2 separate regions of the Homo sapiens genome follow, and region 2 is linked to region 1. Evidence: promoter capture Hi-C in human tissues and cell types (Jung and others, 2019). All regions are on one chromosome and are shown on one strand. Each heading gives the region's core, a stretch centred on a gene start or on the middle of the fragment in contact. The rest is flanking DNA. Distances are from core to core; before and after follow the strand shown.

Region 1 (4,277 bases), core at 1,753-4,252:
CTAAAAATATGGCCACAATACACAGCAAGCAACATGTGCCGGAACTGCTGGGAGAAGCAGATATTTTAACAATTCTAACTGGAAATTTTAAAAAATAATAAGCATAGTTCACATTGACAAAAATTAGCAGAAATCTCCAAATCCTGATCAAAATGATTAATAACCTTAAAAAGCTTTTCTATCTGGGATCTTACCTTACTGAGTCAAGAATTAATAATTTTGAACTAATACATAATATAGAGAACTCTCTGCCCATCAAGCAGAGAGTACAACCATTTTGAACACAGGTAGAACATGTATGAAATAGACTATGTGTTAGGACCTAAAGAAGCCTCAATGAATTCCAGAGGCACAGGGCCATGCAGACTGGGCAGCTAGTTTCTGTTTGTGCTTCTAAGTTCCCTTTGCCCATTCTTCAGGAGACCACCCGAAATGCACCATACTCCTTGGGTGCCCCTGACCTCCAGCTTCCCCTTGGGTTCAGCCAAAGCACTACCAGATCAGGGGAAGAGGGAGAGTGAGGTCCAGGGTTTGCTGCCCTGGCTCCCTTCCTAGGAAACTCTGGCTGGCTGCACCCCTCCACCTGAGCCTCTGCTTCTGCCCGCCCCGCTCCCTGCAGGCAGTAAGGCTGCAGTGCCACCAAGCCCCTGGGGCTCTCCGACCTCCTGCCCACACCTTTATCAATAGTCTCTTTATCAAACCCTTCTCAAATTACCCAATTTGAGTGTGCCATCTGCTTCCTGCCAGGATCTTGACTGAATACAGACTTGTTCTCTGACAACAATGCAATTAAATTAGAACCTGGTAACAAAAGGTTATAATTAAAGAAACACTATTGAAAAGTAAATAACATTATTAAATAACCCTGGGTTTAAAAGGAGATCATCAGGAACAGTAGAAAATATTAGATATGAATGATAATGAAAACATTTTATGTCCAAATTTGTGAGACTCAGCCAAGACAGTTCTGTAGAAGGAATTTTGTAGCTTTTAATACAGTAGATCTATTGGAAAATCAGAAGGCTTAAAAAGGAGCTAAGCATTTGGTTCAAGACAGAGGAACAGATCAAATCCAAAGAACCACAAAGGAAGGAAATAATACAGAAAGACAGAAGCAAATGAAATAACGGGAAAGACGTTTAACAGAACTAAAAGTTGGAGCTCTGAAAATATTTAAAAATATTAAAAGAGAAAAATGCAAAAAACAAAATACAGGCCAAATGCATGCCAGTAATCCCAGCACTTTGGGATGCCGAGGTGGGTGGATGGCTTGACCTCAGGAGTTTGAGACCAGCCTGTGCAACAGGGCAAAATCCTGTCTCTACAAAAAATGCTAAAATTAGCTGGGCGTGGTGGCACACACTTGTAGTTCCAGCTACTAGGGAGGCTGAGGTGGGAGGATTGCTTGAGCTGGGGAGGCTGAGGCTGCAGTGAGCCAAGATGGCACCACTGTACTCCAACCTGGGAGACAGAGCAAGACCCTGTCAAAACAAACAAACAAAACCATAAAAAGCCAGAATATAAAGAAAAAAAGATATGCTAGTCATTTAAATATTAACGTGAAATAGATTAATTCCTAGAAAAATGTCTATTGCCTCGAGAAATAGAGAACTTGCCAGATTAAAAAGCATGAGGAAAACGGAGGTGATAAAGACCCCAGCCCCAGAAGCCCAGATGGTTTTATTGTTTCTGCCAGGGTTAGGAAGAACAATTGATTTCTCTTTCATGCCGGCGGTTCCAGGAAATAGTGAAGGAGGAGGAGCTGTCTAGCTGGTTTCGGCGGGGCTGGGGCTGGGAGTGGGGGGCCCGTGTCTTGCAGAAGTGGATGTGAATCTCCCCCAGCCACCTGCAAGGCGCTCGCACGCAGCTGTCGGGACTGAGGTGAAGCCGGCTCTCCCAGGAGTGTGGATGAAATGGTTAACGGCGAGGCCGCTAGGGCAGCGCAGGCCCCTGCTGGGCGCCAGGGAGGCTTAGCCAGGCGACGCCAGGATGCCCATGGCAGGGGCTCGATGGCAGGGGCTGGGCTGGAGGGGACCCAGCCCCGGGGTTCAGGGTGGCCCGAAATCCGTGCACCCCCGCACCGCAGTGCGGGGAGGTTCCCATGGGCGAGCTGCCCAGAGGCTTTGTCGAAGTTGCCCAGCCCTGGGACGGTGGAGGGAGGACGGTGGCGCGCACAGAGATACCAGTCAGCCCCTGGAACTAGGAAGGCGGCTGGGGGCGGGTGACGCAGGCTGGGGTTTGCCGGGGTGGCCCCCGAGCGGCGTGTGACTTGGGGGTCCAAGGAAGTTAAACTGGACAGGCTGGGGTGAGGACAATGGGGGCCTGGAGAGGTGGGGCGAGAGGAGGGCGGGGGGTCCCCACGAGCCGCGGTAGAGGCGAGGCGGCGGGTCCGCGGGCGGGTTGCATCATCCGGCGGGGAGGGCCTGGGTCACTGCTGCTCTTCCCCCGGCGCCCCGGCCCCGACACAAGATGCGATTTCACCGCGCACCTGTTACACCCGGAGCCAGCATCCCTGGCGCAAGGAGCCCTCCCTCCCCAGCCCCGCCCGCCCCCCACGATGCGTCTGTCGCTGGCTCAGAGCGGGGGCAGGTGGACGTTTTACGATTTCACTCGAAAGGGGCCAGGGTGGGGGACGGCCCGGCGAGGGGTCCGCGGGCAAGTTCAGGTGCACGCGGGGCTTCGGGACGGGGCGCCGCCGGGTCCCTCCCCCGCGAGGTCTCAGGGGCACGCCGGGGGAGGGGACGCTGCGTCCGAGCCGGGTGTCGGTCCCCCACCCTCCGCGGGGCCCGCCGCGGTGTCAGCGGTGACGTCACAGCCCGGCCCCGGCCCCCTCCGTCCCCAGCCCCATCCCCGCGGCGGCCGCGTCGCCCGTCCCTCTCCCCGCGCGACAAACCAGCTGGCGACTGGAGCTCGGACGCCGCGCGCAGCCAACCAGCGCCTCGGGAGGGGCGCGGGGCGGTCCGGGCCGGGGGCGCGCAGCCCGTCACGCGGCGGCGCCGTCACAGCGCAGAGCAGCCGGCGAGCGGCAGCAGCTCCGGGCTCGAGAGCCCGCGCCCATGCCAGTGCCCATGCGGGGCCGCCGCCAGTGACGCCGGAGAGGTAAGGCCGCCGCCCGCCCGGCCTCCCGCGCCCGCGCCCCTCGCCCCGCACCTGCGCCCGGCAGCCCGCGCCCGCAGCCCGCACCTGCACCCACTGCGCCCAGGGCGGGGAGCTCCGGCCCGGCGCCCTTGTTGCCGCCCAAAGCGCAGGCACTGCGAGGCCCCTTCACTTCCAGACCTTCCTCCATCTCCGCAGAGAACAATGGGGGAAATTCAGGGGTGTCCGCCCTTCAGGTGCCGCTGGAAAAGGTCCCTTTGCCGCGATCTCGGCTGCAGCGGGACCCTCGGCTTAGGCGGGCGGGGGTCGCCCTCGGGAGGGCTCGCCCGGCCGGCGGGATCGGGATACCCCCGCCCTTCCCCGGCTATTCCGCTTCCCTGGAGAGGAGCCACCGGCGGGGCTGCGGGAGGGGCTGCGCCCAGACGGCGGGGGAGGGGAGGGATGGTGAGCGGGGCTGAGGACGCTGACGCCGCACCTGGGAGGGTGCGCGGCTGCAGCGCCTCGGCCCGAGGGGAGAGCGCGCAGGGCGGCCGGGCGCGGGCAGCTGCTCCGGTTCCCGGGGTGGGGGAGGGCGGATGCTGGAGCCGGGAGCAAAACAGGCGGGCGGGGCGGGGGCTGCGGCGTTGGGGCCTGGCCACCCGCTTCGTTGCACGGCCGGCCTGCCCATCACCCCCTCCCACGCCAGAGACCCCAGCTCCCTTCCAGAAAGACCCAGCACCTGGGAGGGGCCGCCGGCGAGCACTGCCTGCGTCTCAGCAGCCAGCGCCCCTGTAACAGGTGTGGCCCGGCGGCGAGGGAGGGGCTGCGGGGCCGCAGGGTCTAGGCTGGCGGCGCGCCCCCGGCGCCCGGGCTCGGATGACACGAAGGAACAGTGGCCGCGAAGACCTTCGCACTCCCGCTTTAAGCCGCTCCTCACGCTGACTTCCCCCAAACCAGCCGCGCTGCCCTCTCGCTGGGAAGGGCCGGGGCAGCATCCCCGCCGGGAGGGAGGGTCCGCAGGAGCGGGGCGCTGGGCGCCGGTAGGTGGGGTTGGGGGGGCCCTGCCGGCCGCAGGGGCGGGAGGGGGAGGGGAAGGAGGGAATGCCAAGTCATGGGGCCTGCTGGGCGCGAGCGCGACGTCGCCCGGCGCGGACCCGATGCGCGCCCACGTCCCCGGGAATAGGGACTTTCCCCCAGAGACT
Region 2 (3,878 bases), core at 32-2,531, 240 kb after region 1:
CACTGAGTTTGTGCGATCCCCACACATCTCAGCAGTGAGTATTTCTGCCTCATTTTACCGATGAGGAACCTGAGCTTCAAAGGGAAGAGGTGACAGCTCAGGACCACACAGCTGTAGGTAGGAGGCAGGAAAATAGGGTCTGAGTGCAGGGAACATAGGCTGATTCACACTTCAGTTATGATAGGAAATACCTTCTCCATAGGACATAGGCCAAGCAAATGACTTTGTAACTTCATCCTCTCCATCTGCATAACGTGTGCCCCAAGTAACCAATGGAATCACCTAGAGGGTGTTTAAACTCTCAGAAGTTCTGTAACAGGCTCTCCATCTACATAACGTGTGCCCCAAGTAACCAATGGAATCACCTAGAGGGTATTTAAACTCTCTGAAGTTCTGTAACAGGGCTTTTGTGCTCCTATGCTCAGGCTCACCCCCACACTGTGGAGTGTACTTTCATTTTCAATAAATCCCTTCATTCCTTCTTTGCTCTCTGTGTGTGTTTTGTCCAATTCTTTATTTAAGACGCCAAGAACCTGGACATCCTCCGCTGTTAACAGTAGGACGCATCAACTCCTTAGAGTTGGGGCAGCCAGCATAAAAGGAGGCTGACCTCAGCCCGCTTCATTTACTGCAACGTGAGGAATGGATTCTTTGTTGGCAATATTTTAGATTGAGCTTTTTTTCTCATTATAATACATGCTTAGTAAACAGAGTGGGAATAAATATGGTACATGCTCCTCCTTATAGGAATTTTTTTCCTAACTCTTTGTATGAAGTGGTTTTGTGTTCTTCAACTTTATTGTGAGGATTATGCAGATAGTTTGCACAGTTGACTAGTTATCTGAGGGGAGCATATTTTGGATGTGGGCTATTTTCTGCATTGTGGGTGTTGTATTCCCTCCACACTGGAATTTTTCTGTTTGCTCATTCATTTGGAACAAGGAGAGGTTTATCTGGGCCTGGCTGGATGGGTGGGTGGGTGGTAGTGATCTCCTTAGCACTCTGCCTGTGCCTGTTAAAAGCCCCTCGGATCTGTGCTGGGCCTGGCCACTCTGTGGACACCCTTGCCAAGCTCCACCTTTAGCTGGCATGTCCGTGCTCTTGGGCTTCTCTCTGACCAGGTGATTATTCCGAGAGATGGGGGGTGGGGGGGAGCGGAGACTAACAGCTGACATCAGATTCCTCTTAGTAAAAGGACAGTCTTTGTTAGGAAAAACATCTTGGTGGGTGCTTGAGTAAGAGCCCTGAGGGCATGGCTAGTTGAGGTGGCTTAGCTTGCAGGATGTGAAGGTCTGATGGGAAGGGAAGAGAGATGTGGGGGAGAAAATGGCTGAAGAAATGAGGCTGAGTTGCGGGGTGGGGGCAGATGAAGGGCCATGGAGGGGACCCCTGGAGGGTAGAATGCAGGCAATGTTGAGAATGAGGATGCCTTGATTGACTGGAACTTATTTTTTTTTTTTTTTTACTCTCCACGACCTAATATCCCCAAGTGCATTTTCTGTTCCTATAACAATACCACGGACTGGGTAATTTATAATGAAAATAAATGTATTTCTTATAGTTCTGGAGGCTGGGAAGTCCAAGGGCGAGGGGCTGGCATCTGGTAAAGGCCTTCTTGCCACACCATTCCATGGGGGAAGATGGAAGAGCAAGAGGACACACAGCAAGAGACAGCTAAATTCATTTTTACAACACATGCTCATGATAACGAACCCACTCTGATAATGACATTAATGCATTCATCAAGGCAGAACCCTCATGGCCTAATCGCTTCTTAATGGTTCCACCTCTTAATACCATCACAATGGCAATTAAATTTCAACATGAATTTTGGAGGGAACATCCAAACCAGAGCACTGTTGACTGAGTTTTCATTTTTTATTTTAGTAATTGCTTTTTAAAAAATTTCCAGGGTCTCTGACTGGTTCTTTTTTATAAACTACCTGTTCTTGTTTCATAAGTGCCTCTTCATATGTTATGGTTTATTTCAAAAGTCGTCTTTAGGTCTGAGATTTTGATTATATGTGTTCTAAAGTCCTTTTCTGATTTTTCTGTTGCCTCTGTCTCAGGTGTAAGTTTGGGTTGAGTGGCCTGTTTTCCTTCACACTGTGTTGCTGCCCTGGGCAGGTGATTCTCAGTTGTGCCTTACCTTTACATCTGGAGTTTCCTAATGTTCTGTGCAAAGCATCTGGCCTTAGGAGAGAAACACCACCAATAAGTCCCAGTTAGAGTAGGGATGGCAGAGAAACACTCTGGGAGACAAGTCTGGACTGAACCTGTCATGGCCTGAGGGACTTAGAAAACCTTATTTGGACCTCCAGGGCCTAGAAATTTGCATGGGTCTCCTTCACTGTTTTTTCAGGCTTCAGCTTTCTAATCTATCTCTGTAGAAACCAGTCTTTCATCACGCTTCTTTTCCCTTTTTGAACATCATCTCCTACCTGCCTGACTAGGCCCTAATCCCCAAAATGCAGATCTCTCTCACATTCTGGCCTCAGCTCCGTCGTTGTCATTAGTGCTGTTTGCCATCTGCCCCCGCTTTTGTGCATATGGTGGGGTTGCAGCCCCTGTGGTTGTAGGCCCCTTAGAACTTCCACTGCCAGTGTGAGCCCCTCAACAGCTCTCTTATCCCTGGCAAGGTGCCTGGAAACATTTGAGATCTCTGTTCATCGGTACGGGTCCGAGAGTGGTCACATTGAAGAGAATCCCCCCTTCCCCTGCCAGCCTGAGGTGGGCCTGCAGCATGAGAAAGCTTTGTTGTGTGAGACGTCTGCGCTTCATAGTTGTGTGGCTGGAGCATAACGTGGCCTAATAGAGAAGCTGGCCGCTAGGAGAGGGGTGCTGTGCTAATAAAACGTGCGACCTGCCAGGATTTGGAATGTGGGCAGGCTGTTAGGTGGGGCAAAACATTTGGTAAAGCTCAACTGGGATGACTCATGAGGCAGACCGTGAGCTAAGTGTGCGTATCTAGTGGAGAGGTTGGGAAACAACACTGGCCTGAGTATCGGCCGGAGGCTGCATTGGACAAGGGACTGCAGGGAAGCGACGAGCTAAAAAAAAATTCTGCACTTGCAAGCTGGGTGGAAGAGGAACAAAGGTCAGGAACACAAGGACTTAGGGCTGAAAGAGCCCTCCTGTGTACCCCACGGGCGGGCACAGAGCCAAGACAGATTGTGGTGAGGGTGCCATCCTGGATCCAGATGCCCTCCTGCCCCCAGGGTCATGACGCTGGGCACTGCTGCTGAGTTTCCCAAAGCCAGGTGTCAGGCACAGGTGCGCAGCTCAGCAGCGTCCGGAGGTGGCGCTGTGGGCGTGGCTGTAGGCACGTGGAGTGGAGTCACCCGCAGACCACAGAGTCATTTCGAGAGCTGAATTGCAAAAGAAAGAAGAGCCCAGGATGAAAGTCTGTGACTGCTGGGACTTGAAAACAACCTTGGCGGGGAAGAGGCTGAGAAAGCAGTTCTGCCACTGAGCAGGGCTCCTTTGAGGACACCATCAAGCATGGTTAAGAAACAGGAAAGGGGTCCTCCCAAGGCTGGAGCCCCAGGCCACAGAGAACATGACTTGGGGGAGTGGGGTGTCCACTCCCAGGCAGGGGCCCTAGCTGTGCCTGCCTGGCAAGACTTTAGATGGCCATGCAGCAGGGGCTGCCAGGTGCCCTCCATACCCGCTTTCACAGGGGTTACTGCAGTCATCCTATCCCTGGGTGTGAGGGGCAGTGGCAGTCTTCTAGTTCCTAGGTCTCTGGATGGGGTGGCGCCTCCCCCAGACCTGATGTGAAGAAGGTACATGAAGCAACACATGTAGAGACGGCCCCAGACCCTAGACCAGAGTTGCCACCGCCACTGGAGGGGACTCATATGTCCTTGGGAGGGGAG

Evidence for each region. The method cuts DNA at HindIII sites, captures the fragments that hold promoters and counts their contacts. A contact is called where the count stands out against the background at its distance.
Region 2: a contact is called between a fragment that was not itself captured here and the fragment with the promoter of KIF1A in region 1, in 1 of the 25 tissues and cell types used here (dorsolateral prefrontal cortex).

Annotation. Positions count from the first base shown.
Region 1 is chr2:240,818,944-240,823,220 of GRCh38, reverse strand. It overlaps KIF1A (kinesin family member 1A), which reads left to right and starts at 3,002. Exons shown (of 49, transcript NM_001244008.2): 1 at 3,002-3,099. RefSeq lists an enhancer at 2,016-2,590. The HindIII fragment of the contact is 12,815 bases long and covers 1-4,277 here.
Region 2 is chr2:240,579,359-240,583,236 of GRCh38, reverse strand. It overlaps RNPEPL1 (arginyl aminopeptidase like 1), which reads right to left. Exons shown (of 11, transcript NM_018226.6): 11 at 1,865-3,878. It overlaps CAPN10-DT (CAPN10 divergent transcript), which reads left to right. Exons shown (of 1, transcript NR_103792.1): 1 at 1-487. Among named protein-coding and RNA genes, the nearest start is that of CAPN10-DT, 5.0 kb to the left of the region's middle. RefSeq lists enhancers at 3,114-3,233, 3,731-3,878. The HindIII fragment of the contact is 8,850 bases long and covers 1-3,878 here.